2 separate regions of the Homo sapiens genome follow, and region 2 is linked to region 1. The links are contacts of gene promoters, found by promoter capture Hi-C in human tissues and cell types (Jung and others, 2019). All regions are on one chromosome and are shown on one strand. The core of a region is centred on a gene start or on the middle of the fragment in contact, and the rest is flanking DNA. Distances in the headings are between cores, read along the strand shown. Region 1 holds the start of ASNSD1 (asparagine synthetase domain containing 1). Region 2 overlaps GLS (glutaminase).

Evidence for each region. The method cuts DNA at HindIII sites, captures the fragments that hold promoters and counts their contacts. A contact is called where the count stands out against the background at its distance.
Region 2: a contact is called between a fragment that was not itself captured here and the fragment with the promoter of ASNSD1 in region 1, in 1 of the 25 tissues and cell types used here (lymphoblastoid cells).

The regions. Positions count from the first base shown.
Region 1 is chr2:189,658,751-189,666,679 of GRCh38, reverse strand. It overlaps ASNSD1 (asparagine synthetase domain containing 1), which reads right to left and starts at 5,221. Exons shown (of 6, transcript NM_019048.4): 1 at 5,070-5,221; 2 at 2,726-2,779; 3 at 1,229-1,304; 4 at 1-639. The coding sequence starts at 547. ASDURF (ASNSD1 upstream open reading frame) reads right to left here and starts at 5,221. Exons shown (of 4, transcript NM_001353493.2): 1 at 5,070-5,221; 2 at 2,726-2,779; 3 at 1,229-1,304; 4 at 279-639. The coding sequence starts at 5,159. The coding sequence ends at 569. RefSeq lists an enhancer at 4,974-5,163. The HindIII fragment of the contact is 8,906 bases long and covers 594-7,929 here.
Region 2 is chr2:190,888,694-190,896,622 of GRCh38, reverse strand. GLS (glutaminase) reads right to left here. Exons shown (of 18, transcript NM_014905.5): 2 at 1,375-1,471; 3 at 898-1,019. Among named protein-coding and RNA genes, the nearest start is that of GLS, 12 kb to the right of the region's middle. The HindIII fragment of the contact is 3,167 bases long and covers 3,442-6,608 here.

The sequences.
Region 1 (7,929 bases), core at 3,972-6,471:
GATCAATTCTGAAAAGTCCAGATGCTGGAACTTCTTGCCACTGATTTGCCAATCCAGATGTTTGGGTGCCAACTGAAGAGAGGCAGAAACTCTTGCCCAAATTACTAAAATGCCAAAGCAAGCTACGGCGACCAAAAAAATCCCTACCAAACCATAAATAATGACTAGATGCTTGATAATATATAAATGACCAGGGACCTTGTACTTCTGAGAAGAGTGACAAAATCTCAGATTCATTCTTACAGGAGGAAAGATAATTAAACAAAATTTGAGTGTCATTCTCTTCAGCTTCAACCTTTATTCCACTAAAAATTTCTCCATTCCATAGAAACACATTGCCTCTTTCATCTTCCACAGGCTGGGTAGTCAAAACACCCCTCAAGTGTAGGACGTGAGCAGAAAATAAACACTGGTAGTTAACATCAGACTTTAACAATTGTTTACTACTATTGGGTCCCCGCTGTTTAAGATTATATAGTAAGTCCTCTTTTAAATCTTGACTGAAATGCTCAGCAGAAAAGTTTACAGAACAACAAATGCCACACATTGTTATGTGAAATCAGGTTGACTATTTCTTGATTTTGGTCTTGTCTAAGTTTTCTATTTCTTGGTATTCTTTTTTCAGTTCATCCAATATATCTGTTGCAGGGAAGGAGAATAAATATTAAATAACATAAAAATTCTTGGACTTTTACCTAGCAATTCAGAGGGCAACACAAGCTGTTTACCAAAATCAAACCATATAAACACACACACTGTGCCAGTACCAATGATAATTAACAACAGGCTACTAATAAAGAATGTTTATCTTTTAGAAAAATAGCTTCTGTTTTGCCGAGTGCTGATTTTGGCCCAAGCACTTGGCTAAGCACTTTTAACATAGCATCTTATTTAGATCCCACAATACCTTGGAGGCTTAAAGTATTTCACCCAAAGTCACAAAGGTAGAAAGTGGTAATGGTTTGTCATACTTAGACCTGTTTAAAATTCTAAAGCACATGTTAATAACTATTGCTTTCTAAAACATTTATAATATATATATATATATATATATATATATATATATATATATATATATATACACATATATATATAACTGTTGACTCATCTTCGGAAGCCTAATTTGAAGAAAATCAAACTGCTGCATTAATCTTTAGATATATATTTTAACACTCAGATGAGTATAATTTAGGCACCCCCCAAAAACCCCAAAAAAGAAAAAACTTACTCTTGCTCTCAGACAGCATTTCTGTTCGGTCTGCAAGAAAGAATATATTGCTGTTCTGTTGTTGCCTATATACTTTCTGGAAAACATAATTTAGGCTAATATCAAATTTTGATCTAAAAAGTAGATATTAAAATCCTTAAACCCTATTATCACTAATTCTTGAAAATCTATTCAGTACAATACTTTAGCAAATACAGACAAGCAAAAAGACAAATAAAAGTCACCCACTGCCCAACTACCAGAAATTGCTACTACTGAAATGAAACTATTTTCTCTCCATTTTAACAAAAAAGGTTCTTACTGTACCTGCAGATTTATGCTTTTATCAATGAGCAATATATTGAGAATACTTTTTCTTATCAGTAAGTGTTCTTTTACAAGAACACCAAAATGCCAAAGCAAGCTATGGTGACCAAATTATACCTACTGCTATATAGATATAATATATTACAGTTTATTTGCTCAGCTTCAAATACTAGACATTTAAGGTGTTACCATCTCTTTGCTATTGTAAATCAAGGTTGTGATGATTATCTTTGTAACTAAATCTTTGTGCACTACCATGATTCTCTCCTAAGTATCAACTACTATAAATGGAACTGCTGGGTCAAAGTGTTATAGTTTTGAATTGTTGAGACTTTTTGCCAATTTGCCCTCTAGAGAAAGTCTGTATTAATTCTGCCTCAACTTCTTTTTTTTTTTTTTGAGAAGGAGTCCTGCTCTGTAGCCTAGGCTGGAGTGCAGTGGTGTGCTCAGCTCACTGCAACCTCTGCCTCCCAGGTTCAAGCGATTCTTGTGCCTCGGCCTCCTGAGTAGCTGGGATTACAGGCACACGCCTGGCTAATTTTTGTATGTGCCTCAACTTCTAATATTCCATAAGTGACAATATCAGAAATATCTAACCAGCCAGTTATTACATAATCTTTACAAAGCTTTTAAGAGCTCAAACTCATTTCTTCCTGAATGTTAAAATGCAATTTGACACTATAACCATACACAAAGCAGTAGCTTACTTGTTTGTAACATATTAATGGAAATGGCATTAAATAACCATGTTACACATTTAGGAAAATCTATGTAAAAATTTTTTGGAGGGAGGGGAAGCAATGTATCCTTTTTTGTTCAATAATTATCCACATTCATTTAAAAGAAAAGTTTCTTCTCATCTCAATATAAAGTTCGTTTATATCAAAAGAAAACATCAAATTCAGGTATAAAACATCATTAGTGATTATAGCTCCAAGATACCAAAATACAACTAGTATCATTTGTTGCAAAGGCAATGTGAATGGCATATGATAGAAAAAAGACATCTTCAGCTATGAGATCTATCCATTTAAAAAAAGAATCTAGACACTTGCAATTTTAAAAGATGCTGAAATACTATACATTTTATTAAAGTATGATTAAATCTTATATATACTTCTTATAACTTTAATATATAGTTAACATAAATAAACCTCCCACATATTATTCAGAATTCCTATAATAACTCACCCTATTCTTCTTAAGGTTAGAAAGTTCATCCACCACAATTTTTTGTTCTTTAATCTATTGAAATAAAGAAAAACTCCTTAAGTCAGATGTTTTCAAAGTATGCTCAATGAAAATCCCTTAAGGGGTTGTTTTAAAATTAGAGATGGGATAAGGGGCTATGATGTACTGGTTTTCCAAACGGGCAGTTTGTGAATATACAGATCATTTTCAACAGGAGTCTCTGTGTGGGGGTACAGTTCAGGAAAAGCTGGAGGAGAAAAAACAGTGATTAGACTTGCAAAATGTTAGGTAACCCATTAAGACCAGACAGGGATTTTCGTGTTCATAACCAGCAATCATGCCAAGGACTACAGTTACTAAACAAGGTTTATACCTTTTGTTAAAAATATATGATATACACCAGGCCGGGTGCGGTGGCTCATGCCTGTAATCCCAGCACTTCGGGAGGCCAAGGCGGGCGGATCACCTGAAGTCGGGAGTTCGAGACCAGCCTGACCAACATGCAGACACCCCATCTCTACTAAAAATACAAAATTAGCCAAGCGTAGTGGCACATGCCTGTAATCCCAGCTATTCGGGAGGCTGAGGCAGGAGAACTGCTTGAACCCGGGAGGCGGAGGCTGCAGTGAGCCAAGATTGCACCACTGCACTCTAGCCTGGGCAACAAGAGTGAAACTCCGTCTCAAAAAAATAAATAAATAAATAATTTAAAAAATATATATATATGATATACACCAAAAGGAATTAAGTTGTGATTTAGATTGAAAATTAAGTTGTGATTTAGATTTAAAAAAAAGCAAATTGAATGAGGGGTGGGTTACTTTTTTCAATATTTTCATGATTTTATGTACTAAGTGCTGCAGTCAAACATTCAAATCAAGCAATGCCCTATTTGGGGACAGTAAGACCTATCATGTTCCATCTTGGTATTTTTCCCTCTTTTTATCTCAATGACTAGCATAGAGCTGGCACTGTTGAACTGGGCTTTTTTTTTTTTTTTTTTTTTGAAACAGGGTCTTGCTCTGTTACCCAGGCTGGAGTGCAGTGGTGCGATCACGGCTCACTGCAGCTTTGATCTTCCCGGGCTCAGGCGATTCTCACACCTTAGCCTCCGAGTAGCTGGGACTACAGGCCTGGGCCACCATGCTGGCCTGGGCTTCATTTATTTGTAGGGGAGGGCTCAACTAAGTGAAAACTAAGTTTCTTTTTAACTCTATTTATTTTGTGAACATGACTGATTACATAGTATCACAAGAGCCTCTAAAAGCAGCTTTTATCATATTTGTGCTACCTCACACACACCTCAGGGATCTGTAACCACCAGTATGCGTAAGTGGCTTGCTATGGTGGTAATCAGAATGGGCTGTGTGTCTTTTGAAAATTCACCCCCAATCCCCATGAATGTGCACCTTTCTGTCTCCCCCGTTGGCAGAGCTGTAGTAATGAGGTTGAATTCCAAGGCCAAATTTGTAAACATTCTTTGAGACTTAACATTTATACAGGGCTTTCCCATTTTAGGAATGACAGGTGTACATTTCACTTTACTTCAAAGAAGGTAACTGATACAGAAAGATTAAAGAGACTTGCCCAAGATGTCATTGTAAGTTTGGGACAGAACCAAAGTAGAATCTAGGACATGTAATACCTGAAGGGCTATAACCCTCGCCACCCCCATTTATCTTTAAAGGTTGTTTGTTTATGGCAGTTAAGGCTTATATTATATTGGCTTCCTCTCTCCCCCAGTTTGGTATGAGTGACAACCCAATGCGTGTTTTAGGACCATTGCTCTGGTTAACGGAGAAGCAGCAGCTAACAGGTGGATGAGGAGAGACCGCTTAGGAAGGCCTTGCCGGGGGCAGGGGTCCCGATAGCAGATGACGGTGGCTTATTTGGGGTGGTAAGAGTGTTCACGGTGATAAAGGGACATATTTGAAATGAGCTTCAAAGGTAGAACTGATAGGCTTCCATGATGGGGGTCAAGGATGGACCCCGGGTTGCTGGCATGGTTAACTGGATGGAGAATATCTTTGATGGAACAGATTTGGGGTGGGCGGTATTTCCAAAAGTTTAAAAAGACTAGGGAGGAAAACACCCAACCAAAACTCCGCCCCACTGTCACCTGGGTCCAGTCTCGGGACAAATTTCAAGATCTCCCTTTTCGCAACTGTTTTCAGAAAATAAAAGGACTAACTGTGGCTGTCAAGTGCTATGAATAAAAAGAGCAAAGTAGCAGGGCAAAGCCGAGGCCCAGGCAGGCCCCACGCTGCCCGCTGCGGACCACCTTCAGGGTCCAGTGGCGCCCGGTCCCGAGTCCAGGAGCCTTTTCGTCGCGTCTCACACTCACCTTGCTGCTTAGATCCTCCTTGTGTGGGGTCGAATTGTCGGTGGGGATCAGCACAGAGCTGTCCTCTGGTCGCGTCCCTCGGCTGGGCATTTCCACCGAGCGCAAGACACGCGGGATGGCTCAGCCCTGAAGGAGCCTACGGCATTAGCCACAGCGCATGCGCGCTTCCAGCCGCGCTCACCCTTTCTTTTCCCGCGAGTCTTACCAATAGCGTCTGCGCGCTCACTTGAACGCATGCGCAGGCCGGGTCTGGCCTGGGGAGGAGTTTCGCGCCTGCGCATGGCTGCTTAGGGAGCGAGTAAACAGTCTGGTTGCAAAATCTGAGGTTCCTGTACTGGCCTCTTGTGGTTGAGATGCAGAAACGCTCAGGTGGTTTCTTCATGACCTCTTATCTAGTATACTACGAGTTCTGTGCGCCCTCCAGTGGTAAATATGAAGAATAGTCGTGCAATAGAAACAGCGCTTAATATGATATTTATTATCTAGGGAAAGATGAAGCTAAGGAACAGATTTAAGAGATACCGTGTTGGCAAAAGAACTGTACAGACTTGGTAAAGTTTTGGTTAACTCGTGGTTAGGGTTGCCGGATAAAATACAGTATGAACTTCAGATGAATTAATAGTTTTTTAGTGCATCTATGTCCCGTGCAATATTTGCAATATCTCATTTCTGTGGAAAAAATGACTAAAACTTGGAAATAGGCAAAAGAGATTTATTTACTGGATGCTCTTTCAGTGCTGCTCTGGACTTGACTTTATTATATTGACTGGGCTGTTTTACAATTCTGTAGGGGCAAAGGTTAACTTTGGTAGAGATTTTGGTTTGGTAGAGATGCAAATAATTTTTTGTTGTACCAGATACCAACACAGGTTATGATTTATTGTTCTGCAACACATTAGTCAGTTTTGTATCTAACCCTGCATTCTGTCCTAACATTTCTTTATTAACATATGCCTAGCTTCTCTAATATTCTGTATTGGTTTTAAAGTCATCGGTTCCCTCACTAACCAATGAGTTGAATAAAAGTTTGACATGTATATATTTTATGTTCACATTAGAGACATGATTTTAGGTTTTTGATAATTATACTATATTATTGGAAATCTTAAGTTTCCACAGAGATGCCCAACTGGATTTATGTGATGAATCAAACTATCTGGCGAAAGAAATGTATACATCATGGGTTGTTTAAGGCCAGGCATGTTTTTTATTTGCTCTTACAGAAAACCCAAGTGGTTATATATTTTTCCTTTATAATTGATTTTTAAAGATTGTGTTTTCATTTCTGATTTGTACATTCCTGATAAGTTATTCAGGTATAACTTATACATTACTGATACATTGATAGCAGCAATGATTGGGAGTTTGGTTTTGTGGTCTAACCATTTGGTGGTATCTGTTGGATGATGGACGTCTAGTCTCATTGGTAGAGAGGTAGATAGGTGCAGTGGCTCAAACCTGTAATCGCAACCACTCGGGGCTGAGGTGGGAGGATTACTTGAGGCCAGGGGTTCAAATAAATAAATAAGAGAGGTGACAGAGAAGCGAGTTTGTAAGTCTTTTTGTTTATTGTTTGTGAGCTCAAATTAATTAATTACTTTTGTGTCCACTGAGAGGGAAGGAGGACAGCTATTTGAGATGTGGGCTAGTAAGGTTTTGTTTGTTTGTTTTAACATAAAGGCCGCTCAAGCAGAAGAACTGGTGAATTTTTGTGGTTTTGTGTTTACTTTTGACCTGAGATTGAAGTTGTAAGACAGAAGCAATAACCTCTTTATGTGTCTGTGTGTCTGTAACTTAGAACAGGCTTTATGTCTCCCTTTGTAAATATGAAATATTTCCCTACTTCTGGAGTGTATTAATAAATCCCACTATAGTATCTCTAATTAAAGGGCCTCTGTTCTGACTAGTTTATAGAGAAAAATAAGCACTGGTATAATCCCAATATTTTTAAAAGCCCAGAATTTCCAATACTTTAAATGTGCCAGATTTTTAAGGAAAAAAGTTCTTACAAAACTGCTAGCTTAGAAACATTTTAAGAATCCAAGTTTAGGAAAAAGAGAGCTCCAAAGTGAAGTATCACTTCACTTTGTTGTTGTTGTTATTTTGAGACACAGTCTTTCTCTGTTGCCCTGGCTGGAGTGCAGTGGTGCGATCTCTGCTCACTGCAACCTCTGCCTTCTGGATTCAAGCTATTCTCCTGCCTCAGCTTCCCAAGTACCTGGGATTACAAGTGTGTGCCACCATGCCCGGCTGATTTTTGTATTTTTAGTAGAGATGGGGTTTCAGTATGTTGGCCAGGCTGGTCTCAAAGTCCTGGCTTCCAGCTATCTGCCCGCCTCAGCCTTCCAAAATGCTGGGGTTATAGGTGTGCGCTGCCAGGACTGGCTTCCACTTTGTTTAGAGGTAATAGTGAGGCTTATCTGTAAAGCTGATGAGACTGAGCATCCTAGCCTATTGGTCTTCTTTGTACCCCACCTTCTATTATAGTGTCTGGCAGAGTGGGAGCTCTGGTTAAAGTTTGAATTGGTTCTGACTCACAATCATGTCCACATCGAGTAGCCGGAAACACCCAACACCGCTGATTGGTCTACAGCTGTTCACCCCGTTTTGGGAAGTGGGCTGTTGCTTACGGCTCTGCCAGGTTCTGATGTTTTTGTTTATTCACAAGGGCTGCCCAAGACAACATAGTACTAAACAAAATAGTACTAAACAAAGTGGTGATAATAATTTTAGTATGGTGCTAAACTGTCTTAAAAGTGCTTTCACACTTTGTCTTATTTAAAAAATATTTATCTATTTGCTTCTATTTCCTCCTTCAGCTGCTCTAACTTCTGCATTGCTTGAAGTCAGCTTTGGGGTT
Region 2 (7,929 bases), core at 3,776-6,275, 1.2 Mb before region 1:
TCAGATGACTTCATACTCCAGGAGACATCTAGAACAAATCACCCAACCCCCAAAAGAAGATAAAACAAAAGTAAATACAACCATACATAACAAACTTTCAAAGTAGATGCAGAAATTTTTTGGATCCATGTCTGGAAAAAGCCAATGTCTTATAGTAGTATTTACAGTTTTATACTAGTTTCTACTTAAATAGTAGTAGTTTAAAATACTATTTGATTCTTTGGGATCCATTACACACATGTCCATTAAATCTTTAAGTAATCAAACTAATAGAAACACATTAATGAAGATAAATAATAAATATATGCAAATACAGGAACATCAAAGTAAAAATTCTCATTCAACCAAATCAAGGCTTTAATCGCCAAAGTTGCCTTTAGTTCTTTACTGTTTTGAAGAAAATGAAAATAGCCAAAAGCCTATGTATCAATATGTCTGAAGAGAGGAGAGGAGCAGACAATGCAGGTATGTAAATGTGAGGAACACAGGTCTGTCTGAAGCCCTCTCATTTTATGATGTCACCTAAATCACCTTGTGGAAAAGAACTAGAGACCATGCTGAGAAAGCGTGCAAGTCATGCAGATGAATTGGGGATCAATATAAGCAATGACAGGACAAAGGATGTGCTCTACTCAAACTGAATGCAATCTCCAAGTACTGTAAACTGGAAACATCGGTGGCTAAATTTGCTTAGAACAGATTTAAAGAAAGAATACTCTTAGCCCGGTGTATTATAGAACCTAATATGTACCAAGTTCTTCAAACAAATGATGTTTATAAATCCCCTTTTTCCATTACACAGGAAGCAGTGGCCTTCAAAGATGCAATTTTGTTTTAAAAGCAGAATCACCGTATAGCATAGCAAATCACCATTAAAGGTTTGGCAGAAACTTTTACTTTTTAAAAAGATCTTTGTCTAGCATGACACCATCTGATGTTGTTTGAAGAGTTAATCTTAACATATCCATACACTCTTTCAACCTGGGATCAGACGTTCGCAATCCTGTAGATTTGAGTGCCTGTTTTTAAAAAAATAAGAGTTTGTAAATATATAGTGCAAATAATGTATATGCTTATACCAACTATAAGATTTTATTCCTGTATATAAAAACTTCTACCCAACACTTGAACATGAATATGGCATCTTAGTGTCACTATTACCCACTTTCTGGACAAGTTTCTCATTGTTTCTTTCTTTTTCTTTCACTGATTACCTTGAAATGAGCATGACAAAAATTTGAAAACATAATAAGAGAAATATTGTCAGTCAGAATCTACATGTCAGACGACCTTTAAGACTATATTTCAATAATACTGTATATATTTATTATTATTGATTTTTTTAAGTTAAGATAGAAAAATATAAAAACTTACTGTAATAAATTTATGAACAGGTATTTTCTCTTGTCCTTCAGCAATTGTATAGAACAGCAAATCTTCCAAGCTAGGTAACAGACCCTGTTTTATTTTACTAAAGAGGTAGAAAGAACACAAAATTAATCCTTGTATGAACATTCTACTGGATTTTTAACTAAATCCATTGTTAAATAACCACTAAACTAGACTACAGCTGAGCTCATATACTCAAGACTACAGTCATAATAAATGTTGATTTACCAAAATCAAATCAGTACCACTATAAACCACACTGAAAAACAAGTAGAAAAAAAATCATTAACACATTTTTTAATCCCAGGTTTTGAAACCCTGATCATCAACTCTAGTTGTGCTAATGCCCAGCCATCCGTTATGGTGATGCCTTCCTATACACCCCAGTACAATCACCCAATACAAATTATAGAGTTCAGCAAACGTTCCGATAAGACTCAACACTCTGTTCAGTTGTTTTGGGGATTTTCTAAATATGATGACTATATTTACATATTATTCAAATAGTTAACCTGATTATAAAATCTGGGAGAGATAGCAATTAACTACTACACAGTAGTTAAGATCAAGTGCACAAGTTCTTGAATCCTGGCTGTAATACTATAGTTGTGTAACCTTGGGTAAATTAATTAACCTTTCTGTGATCCAGTTTCCTCATCTGAGAAAGGGAATAAAACAGTGCCTCCCTCATAGGGTTGTGGTGAGGATCAGTTGACTCAATACATTCAATATCTTTAGAACATGTCTGGCAGAGAGTAAGACTCCACTGACAGTAGTTGTAGTTATTATTTCTAAAGTGATCTAGGTTTACATATCCTAGTCAGCCCTTTGCATCCATAGATTCAACCAACACGGATAAAAAATATTCAGAAAAAAAATAAAAAAACGTACATTCAAAAGATAGTATAAGACTTATTTACATAGCATTTACATTTTATTAGGTATTATAAGTAATCTAGAGATGATTTAAAATATATGGGAGGATATATGTAGGTTATAGGCAAATATTATGCCATTTTACATAAGAGACTTGAGCTGTGGGGGACCTGGAACCAATCTCTTAACATATACAGAAGGACAAGGCAAGACTGTATACATCAAATTCTACAAATCATAAAGACTATTAAAAGAAAAACGTTACCAATAAGTATGCATTAAAAATCTTAATTAACTAAACTAGTGTAACACTAAAATGCTATGATTAACCAAACTTTTAAATACTGAATGTCACACAAATGTTTTTTAAAAACACATAGCTTTATCATTAAAATATTTAATGACATATCCTGATACATAATTATTCCCTGAAACTGTTTTTGCTCTTAGACAACTTCTAAAAATGCATTTGAAGCTGGGCGTGGCAGCTCACGCCTATAATCCCAGCACTTTGGGAGGCTGAGGCAGGAGGATCACTTGAGGTCAGGAGTTCGAGATCAGCCTGGCCAACACGGTGAAACCCCATCTCTACTAAAAATAGAAAAACTAGCCAGACGTTGTGGCAGGCGCCTGAATCCCGGCTACTTGGGAGGCTGAGGCAGGAGAATAGCTTGAACCCGGGAGGTGGAGGTTGCAGTGAGCCAAGATCGTGCCACCACACTCCAGAGTGGGTAACAGAGCGAGACTCTGTCTCCAAAAAAAATACATTTGGGATGTTTTAGTAATAATAACTACAATATATTGATCACTTACTTATATTCTACACACTGTGCTAAGTGTTTTACATGCATTCTAACTTAATCCTCCAAGGATTTTATGACAGAGGTACTACTGTTATCCAAAACATAGTATGATTTCTGGTACATACTTAGAAGCTCAACAAATTTGTTATTTGTTCAAAAAAATGACTACCTCTGTCCCCATTTCACAGATTAGGAAACAGAGGCTCAGAGGTTAAGAAGCTTTCCAAGGTTACACAATGGCAAAGATGGATTTTTCTGAATCCAAACTACTGCTACATTATACTGGCTCTCTAACTTACTAGCTTGTTATTACTTTTATAAGGTACAAACAAGTTTTCTAGGTCTTATCCTGACCTAATACCATTAAACACAGCTTAACAATACTCACCACCTAATATTCAAAGAAAAAACTGAACCAGCTGTCAAAAAATCAGTGGATAATAACATACCAATTATTTACAGCAAATGGTTGGTCAAATAAACTTCAGATAGTGGTAGTTTGTCACTTTAAAAAACTGCAGAATAAGCTTTCTATGTATTTATCACACAAGTAAATGGTATTTGCTTTGCCTAAAAGCTATGTAAATAACGTAAAATATACACTTTTTTAGCTTATGGCACATAGTGAAAAAAAATTAAAATGACCACGTTATTGCCAAAGCTAGCAAAAAAAGACAAATGTTTACTTGCTTTTAAACAAGAAATTAATTTTTATCTATAGGGGAAAGAATTTAAGCCAGCCCTAAAAAATAAGCTCACAAAATAAGCTGTCAAAACTGATAAAAAGAAATTACTACCTATTTCAGCATTTGAAACCTCAGATTTTGATCTGAGAATGAATTCGCTTCAACAGTCTGGCGAACAAACATACTCAAATATTCTCCTCAAACTTTCCACAAGGCAGAAACTACTCAAGATCATTCATGCCTTAACCCCCCTTTTCTCTCCCTAAATTAATTCTTTCTGGTAATTCTTCACAATAATGTATTTTTCATTAAAATTCAAAAGCTAAAAACTATAGCTTTTGGTAACTATATAGTAACTAGGAAATCCTTGAGAGAAGTATTTAAGTTTTAATGACAAATAGGATTATAGCAATCTTTCAAATCTTATCATCAACAATTATTAATAACCCAAATGAATCCTCCAGATTCCCCTGAAGAGAAAAACATAAAATGGTTATGATATTCAGCAATTCAAATAGGATATAACAGAAGATAATCTGAAGGAAAATCCTTATTTCTCACCTTTTTACTTCTTCTCCAACTTATACTGTCTCTCTCGTTTCCTTTCTAAATGCTGCCTTTAAGATCATCTTACCATCATATTGTTTCTTCTTTTACCCATTCCTTCCCCTACTTTAGCCTTTAACTGTCTTAAAAAATAATTTCTTAATGAAAAAGAAGAAAAATCCCATGCCATGTATGACATCATGTTAGACATCATTTACAGTCTAGAAGAAGTAGGAGACATGTACATAAAATGAGGAATTACAAGAATAGATCTATGACATCCAGACTTTGGAAAACTACTTCACTGTGGTCTAATAAGGTCAAGCTTTTTTTTAGATGAGGTGGAATCTGAGCTAAACCTGAAAGATGGGTAAGAGCTGGAAGCATGGCAACAGAAAAAGATTTCTGGCAAACAGACCAAAGGGATGAAAGTAAGCATTCACTTAGTGTTTATAAAGAACAAAAAACAGCTAGAGCACAGAATGTGTGAATTAAGGTGCCTGTTTCTACCTATAGGCTATTATATGAATACTTAATTTTTTAGTGTTGAGAATATATATATTCTGAATATATATATCTGAGGTAAATGAGGAGACTACCTTCCAAAATCTACATTAAGTTTAAATGCAGGGCCAACTTCTGCAACATGAAAAGAGGAACTGTCTTTGCTTACCCCACTGACCAAATTAGTTTCCCCATACCAAAGGGGGAATTCATACTCCTCAGTCTGGTATGCAGTTCTCTATAAATTAGTTTTACACTATTTATTCCTAACTTAATCCTTATAATTCCCCAATGTAATTGACTAGACTCAATGACCTGTAAATAAGTGCTATCTCATCTTTTTTTTTTTTAACCTATCATGCCTTCTGTGTAAAACCTTCCTCTCCCTAAATCTTAAGCTATCAATGATCATTTCAATTGTTTCACAGGACTTTGCCCCCACCAGATTCTCTATACTCTTTAGCATTCTCTGGTATCACTAAGTTTTGTCCTTTTCTTGTACCACTTATTATATGCCAAGCAATAGCAATAAAGATCCCTAAAGTAAGGTTGTGGTCTAGGAGAAATATGACTAAAGCCATGAGACAAATACTATGGTAGAAGTGTTTTTCAAAAAGTATTTTATTAGCAAGTACAGATGAAGTATTTAATTTTGCCTTAATCGGTAGGGGAAATCAAGAAAGTTTCTAATCTGTAATTAGGAGCAACAAGGCAAACTCATCTTCATCAGTTCAAAAATCTTATAAATAAAAAACTATCAAATGAAAGGAAGAAAATAAAAAAAAAATCCTTACTAAGAACTACAAAATGAACAGAGGAAAATAATTGAAACCAACTGTATGGTCTTATTTTGTTAAATAACATTTCATATTACCTAACCTCCCCAAACTATAAAGCTTCAAGGCTGGGGTCAAGTCTTTCTTATTTTTTTTTTCGCATAACTCTTAAAACACATAGTATAGTATGGTAAACCTATGAGACAATGAAAAACTGTCTTTTCAAGTGGGATTAAAAAAAATGAGGCCTAATAATAACACAATACAAAAGGATTTGCTAGTCTTTATGCCTTCATTTAAGAATAATGATCCTTCAGATGATAATTCAGGGTTGTTTTAAAATCAGTGTATCATTTTGAATTTATAGTGAGCTGACTGATAACAACCGTCTATCAACACCAGCAAACTGGCAGATTAATAAACCTGTTAGATAGAAAGTTGAATTGATGGTGGCTGACCATATAGTAAAATAGCATATGAGAATGAATGTTAAGTCTAACAAATTGACAAATTCTAGTTATCATCCAAGTGATTTTGCCCCAAGGCTAATCATTGGTTGAATTTAAAAATAAAAACTTACATCTTTTAAGGCTTTACTGCTAAAAAAGGACTCTCACTTTCTATCATATTAAAACCCTATGAGGTAAATTAAGGTGGGTTAATTGTCCCCAGTGTACAGATAAAAGAGAGTCCTAGAAGAGTGTGGTGGCATGCACCTACAGTCCCAGCTACTTGGGAGACTGAGGCAAGAGGACTGCTTGAGCCCAGGAGTTCAAGGCTGCAGTGAGCTATAATGGCACCAATGTACTCCAGCCTGGGTGACACAGCAAGATTCCATTTCTAAAAAAAGAAAGAAAATGTTAATTTAAATTTTAAATTTAAAAAAAATTTTGTTTTAAGAGTATCCAAGTCAAGCAGAATGTCCAATGTCACATAAATCTTAAGTGGCTGGACCAGAATTAGTCCTACAAAGCTCATCCTTTGTTCCCAGTTCCAGACTCTTCCTGCTCTGCCACCTCATGCTCTCAGTGGTTAGCACTCTATTTTAGGAATAATATCTGTAATTCTTAAACAATAATAAATTTCTAACCAAAATGCACATAAGAGAACTAAACTGGTCTGCCTTGATAAAACTGCATCCTGTCAAAGCAAAGATGAGATTATATTCAATTAGTGCTGCTGTTTTGACTGGACTTTATAGCACAAATTCATTTAATAGCACACCAAAGTAAAAAGCACAAAAGCCACTTTATGTGAGGAAATGGTCAGGCTGCCCCTGTCAGCTCATGGTAATTTGTCCATACGTTTGCACAACTTCAGAAGTTTGACCCAAAAGGCAGTCTGGCTGTCTCGGGTGGGAAGACTAGGATCTGGGGAGATCAAGTCTATAACATCCAACTCTGTTAGTTTTTCCAATAACTCATTTCTTCAGCCAAGTATCCTTTAATATATCAGTCTAGATGGAATAATACAGATACTATATGAATTCTGTCACTGCAATCACTCTGATACCACTATAGACAACTTGTTCAGAATAACTAACATATATAGGTAGAAGTTAATGAAAAACTTCAGCCACACATAAGGAAAAATGAAACAGCTATGAAAACGGAATGGGCTGCCTTCTAAGGGAGTGAACTCCCTTGTGAAGGCAGTATTCAGGTAGAGATGAATAACAACAACCTATAGGGAGTATGTAACAGAAGAGAAGAAAGCAGCAGCTGGGGAGAAGGGTTTGTAAGATCTCTTATAATCCTCAATCTAAAAAAATTAACTCTATAAATTGAATTAGTTTGCTGCTAATAGATGAAAAATAAAAAATCAAAACAAGTCCTAATACTGTCTGAACTTGTTTAGGTCATTTAATATCTGCGGGCAGCTTATATAATACGTAAAATGAGCTGGAATTAAATGTTCTTTAAAGTTACTTCCAAGCTTAATTCTCAGTTTTTGAGTTGCTAAAAATAGATGTCCTCCAAATCACTACACTAAAGTGAGATCATAAACTTTATTCACTCACAACTTACATACTTTTATTTTACACATTAGCATATTCATCTGGGTTCTAAAACTAACAGAAGTATTTAATGCCACTGAACTAGGGAACTTAAAAATGGTTAAAGTGGTAATTTTTATGTTATGTATATTTAACCACAATTTTTTGAAAAAGCTAAGCAGAACTGGATACAGAAGGTAAGAGTGAAGGAGGATAGCTAAAGTAGAGACATGAAGAACAGTCAACTGATACAAGATACAAAAATCCACAAAAGAACAAACCCACCCTTAAGAGTACTGGTTAAAGCAGAACCAATCAAGGCATGAGAGAACTTACCAATAAATATATTTTAG